Regions from separate parts of the Homo sapiens genome. Here region 1 is linked to region 2. Evidence: promoter capture Hi-C in human tissues and cell types (Jung and others, 2019). All regions are on one chromosome and are shown on one strand. The core of a region is centred on a gene start or on the middle of the fragment in contact, and the rest is flanking DNA. Distances in the headings are between cores, read along the strand shown.

The links. Contacts are between HindIII fragments. The study calls those that stand out against the background at their distance.
Region 1: a fragment that was not itself captured here is called in contact with the fragment with the promoter of LRIT2 in region 2 in 1 of the 25 tissues and cell types used here (dorsolateral prefrontal cortex).

The regions. Positions count from the first base shown.
Region 1 is chr10:82,806,043-82,808,742 of GRCh38, forward strand. All of the region lies in intron 3 of NRG3 (neuregulin 3), which reads left to right. Among named protein-coding and RNA genes, the nearest start is that of NRG3-AS1, 570 kb to the left of the region's middle. The HindIII fragment of the contact is 4,270 bases long and covers 1-2,700 here.
Region 2 is chr10:84,224,110-84,226,809 of GRCh38, forward strand. LRIT2 (leucine rich repeat, Ig-like and transmembrane domains 2) reads right to left here and starts at 1,435. Exons shown (of 3, transcript NM_001017924.5): 1 at 1,302-1,435; 2 at 224-1,005. The coding sequence starts at 1,411. The HindIII fragment of the contact is 11,140 bases long and covers 1-2,700 here.

The sequences.
Region 1 (2,700 bases), core at 91-2,590, 1.4 Mb before region 2:
GTATAGAGATTTCTTATGAACATTTAAGAAATAGAATTCATTCATCCTAATCTACTGCTAGAGAAGCATTTGTTTATAGAGAGACTGGGTCCTTTCATATCAGAAAGCAAGTGACACCTCAGGGAAACATCAGCTATGGCTTTAAGCAGATGTGAGTGTCAACAAGGTTTGAGTTCCTCATGTGCCTTATTGACACTTCCTGTTATAAATATGACTTATAGGTCTTTTCAACAATGACAATGACAATTGAGGCCTGAAATTATGCCCGATTGTCTGAATACTTAGATAAGACGGCATTATTTTCTATATATTTTATTTGTGATCAAGTTCTGTGATTGCCTTTCTACTTAGTTTTTGCTGTTTTTATAAAAATATATACTAAAGACAAAAATCCTGACCTCATTCACACATCACGTATTAGTAGAGCATGTATGAGGTATTGGGTAATGAGCTAGGCTTCTACTCACGGACCTACAATTAATGTGAGAAGTGAAGCTAAAGACCCAACCTGATGATTAGTTGAGACTTTTCAAGTATTTCTCTCTAGAAAAGGCATTGATTTGAGGATGTTGTTTCACATTTCTGAGATGCATCTAGGAGTTGTCATGTACCATTAGTATATAAATCCGGAGTGGCTAATCAGGAGGGAAAAAGAGAATAATTTAGGAGTGACAACCAGATACGTAGAGAAGATGATGTAGATGACAGTCTGATGGGGGTACTGGAATTAGTGCATAGTACTTAGGTAAGTCTCATGTGTTCCTCTGCAGTTTGGATCATAAGGTTGTCTGATAGAGCCTGTTGTAGACATCAGATAGGCACCATCTGCATGTAACCCTTCCTATTTCTATTTGTCCTACCTGCAAATCATTTTATTTTTGAAGCACATCTACTCATTGTCTACATAGACTTTAAAGACTCACACTATATTTTATTTCAACTGTTTCCTGCTTTCATGTGATGGAATTACAGCTTTCCACACATTGTTTGCTGCCAAGACCCTAATTGGTTATTGGACATAAATGTCCTGGGAGAAAGTCACCATCCCAACATGAGTTTTAGCCTCTTGCTTTTCCAAATGTTTGCAATATCTTTCCAACAATTTCTTTCCCTCTAATCATGTTCTGCTTCTAAATGAGACATCTGTCAAAGTACATAAAAAGACAAATGTTATAAAAGTGAAATGATATCTAATTTTTGACTTATTTAGGGGGCATCTTGACTTACATGTTTTCATTACACTTGAAATATAATAATTACTGCATGTTCAATAACATCAATTTGAGCAAGTAAACTTGCAAGGACTCAATAAGGGGAACTGACAGTCATGAATACCTACTTTGTGTCTGGGGATTTGCTAACATTATTTCATTACCTTGCAACGGGGTGTGTGGAGTGTTGCTACTCATGTCCACCTATGTAAAGTTCAGAGGCCTCCATGAGTCCAGAATACATAATTACATGAATCAGAGTTAGGATGTGAACACACATCCATAGGACTACAATGTAATTTCCTTTCTTGTTGGAATTTAAAGTGTGATCCAAGGCCAGCAACATCAGCATCATCTGGGAGCTTGTTAGATACACAGAATCTCAAGTGCCACCCCAAAGCAAACTGCTTCAGAATCTTTGTTTTATTAATAATAAGCTCCCTTGATGAATCCTATGCACATTCAAGAGTGAGAAATACTGATTTATACATCATGCCTCCAAAGCAAGCTTCTTTTTCCCTTTTTCCCTGTTTCCTGTCTTCTCTTATATGGCTGCAAAGACAGTCATATGGCATACTTTTTAAATAAATTTATTTCATTTATTTTTTCACAAAACACATCTAATTTTCTTTGAAACAGTCCAGGGACTCACAGTACTATTCCTTGTTTACAAATCCTTTTTCTTTCTTTACCTAAATAGTCTCCTCTCACAGACAATTTCTTTCCTTCTTCATCTTTCTCAATAACTGCAAAAATTTTCTCCAATAAATTGACTCCCATTATCGTAAGGGGGTAGATGTATCTGGTGTTACCCTTTCTGTGTTGTGAATGAGGAACATTTATGGTTAATTCGTAGGTTCTTCACTTATTTTCATCTCATTTTTCATGTATCTTGAATAATTGCTCTCATAAATGCCCCTCAAACATAATTTCTACACACGTAGTAAAAAAAAAAAAGCACAGTAGTCAAGTCGCTATTTTGAATAAGCACCTTAGAGTTTCTCCTTTCATTTTGTTTATAGCTTATAAATACAGTTTCTACTTACACTGTGTATCACACAGTTAAATCTGAATGATACATTGAGATCATTTTACTAAATGTTCCAGAAAATAAATATTCAAATTCATTTAAATTCAATAAAGGAGTCGACTCATTTCATTTTACTATTACAAATTACTTATAATTTTTGGTGATCAGTGACATTATGTAATTAAACACACACATTTTTCTTTTAATTTTGAGATATTTTTATGATAATATAAATGTGTGAGATCTTTCATAGATGATTATATATGTGATTAACTTTTTTAGATAGCCTTAGAATGAAAAAAATCTCTCCAATTAAACTGTTATTTTTTAGAAATACTTCATTAGCTTTTTCTGCAATGACAAAACTTTTACCTATTTATGATTAATAGAATTACCCATGCTTCATGTTTTAAATCAAACCCGGAATTTAGACAACTAAAGTAATCTCAAAATTATGAA
Region 2 (2,700 bases), core at 185-2,684:
CTGTATGCAAAGAGATCTGTATGCAAACATTTAAAATAATGCCAATAGTGGAACACTACCTTGAAATCTTTTCTGTTCTAGTGAGCATAATTCAGGGCTATCCCAATCTTACTTGCACCCACCCTTCGTGACTGACCCAGCTTTGAATCTCTCTAATGAGGATGGGTTTGCTACAGACCTCTCCATTCCCTCCAGATACACTGAGAGGGTGCATGTGGCTTACCATCAAATTCTCTCCACATACTCAGGGGATAAGTCCATGCAATGGATGGTGAGGGGCTGGCCTGTGCCAAGCATCGCAGGGTCACATTCTGTCCTGCCCGGATGGTGATATTGGCACTGGGGGTTGAGATCTGTGGCTTCATGCAAGCACTAAGCTCAGTTTCATGAAAAAGCTGCCCTGCCTTGGACAGAGGGCCCTGACATATCAGGTAGGAATTCACCAGGATGACTGGGAGGGTAATGGACTTGACAAACTGGACAAGCCCCCTTAGGCGACAGTCACATACCCAGGGGTTGTCATGCAGGGCCACCACCAGGCTGGAGAGAATCTCAGCCCCACAGTCAGGCTGCCGGCATTTCTGGTAGGCTGGCCAGTTCAGGAAGACACTCTTGGATACAACTGTAAGCCTATTGGAGGATAGGTCAAGGTAGGTCAGGCTGACCAAGAATTGAAGAGCCAGCTCAGGGAGTGCATCAATCTTGTTGCGTTTGAGATCCAAGACCCTCAGGAGAGGGGTGGCACGGAACGCTGTCCATGGTACTGAGCAGAGCTTGTTCCCCTCCAGTCTCAGCTCCCTCAGTTCTGGCAGGTGTTCCAGGGCTCCTAGGTGGATCACACTGATATTGTTAAAATTGAGCCAGAGGTATTCCAAGGTGCTCATGTTGATGAAAGACCCTTGGGGCATCTCAAATAAGGGTGAATTTTCAATTCTCACTTGCTTGAACTCTTCAGAAAGGTTCCCAGGGATCTTTCCCAAGGAGACAGATGTGCACTGCAGAGTCCTGTACAAGAAACCAGAACAGCTTTAAGATAAACAACAGGGGACTGAAAAGTGGGGTCAGGCTGATCCTGGCATTAGACATGTGAATCAGAATAAAAATATTATTATTCATTGAAATAAAAGAGTTAGACTCATTTTGGTAAAAATGCACAGTTCAGCAAAGTTCAGTCCCAACTAGAATGAGTCTCATAGAGTTTTGCTGATTTCCTGCCAATTCTAAGCCTGCTTCCACTCCACATCATCCCCAAAGAAAACCCATTCCCCATAACCCTCTAACATCTGGCCAGCAGAGCGCACCTGCCAAAACTCTCCTCTGAGCAAGTGCATCCTGGCAGACAGAAAGGCTGAGCTGCGTGTGTATCCAGAAAGACCAGAACTAACAGGAAGTAATGAAAAACTGAAGCCATATTTCTCTGTAAGAAAATACGTTGTGAGTTTTGAATAAGTATCGCCCCAGCTTCCGAGTGGCAAATCCTATTATTGGTAATCCATGATGATGTAAGTCACACAGCAGCAGGAAAGCCCATGGGAGCTCTGAGGTCTGTTACAGCCCAGACCACAAGTTCAGTCAGAACACACGAAGGGGGATCAATGTCTCTTAACTAGGGTCAGGAAATTCAACATTTGTGTAATTCTTGAGTCTGAAAAGCAAACTCCAAGTCAGATGTCCAATTCCATACAGATTCTACATTTCTTAGAGTCTTAAACAGAAGTCTGAGAAACAAGCAGGCAGTGCTATTCTGAGCACCACTGTTCAGGGGATGTGGCCAGAATCCATCTAATGCTTCATCATTTGCAGTTGATTCCTGAAACCTAGAATTTCCAATCATTTTCTCAAAGTGAAAATAGGTGATGAGTAACAAAGTAATTCTGTGTTCATTCCTATCATTTGTTCTCTTCCCAACACCACGGGTGGTGTAGTCATGCTCCTACTGCATCAAGACAGCTGCTTCTGCAGCTTGGGTCACCAGTTTCAAATACAAGATGGTATTTTCTGATTAAACCAAAAGATTGTTTTCTTGGACTTCACAACCTTTCCTTAATACTGTGCATTTCACTTCATCAAAATGGGCAACCTACATTTTAAAAAGAGATGTATACAATTTTATATGCTTGCTCTTTCACTCTTCATTTATTCCACAAATATTTACTGGTCATTTGCTTTAAGCTATACTCTTGCCCAATGAAAGGAACAGGGTCAAGGGCAAACCTATTATAGACCCTGTCCCAAGGAGTCTTCTCTCTTGTTTGTGCTTCTGAATCTTGAGATCTTTGGAATGTAATTTAATCTCTGTGAGTCTTTTCTGTATCATGAGAATATTAACAAATACCTCATAGTGTTTCCAGGAATTTATTTCTCATTATTTTTTAATTTTTGTATTTTTTCAGAGACAGGGTCTCACTCTGTTGCCCAGGCTGGTCTCAAACTTCTCAGCCTCCCAAGTAACTGGGATTACAGGTGCAAGCCATTGCATCCAGCCATATTTTTAGAAAAGTTTGAGATTATGTTAAATACAACACCTAGCACACAGTTGGTGCCCATTAATCCTCCTCCCACTGACAAACTCTTTAAGATCCGAAAAGTCTACATCTCTATTAACTAGGGCACTTCCAGTTGAATATTGAAATTCCATGAGTTCCTTTAAGACTCATGATATACATTGTACCCTACAAAAGGCCTCAGGAAAGAAAATCC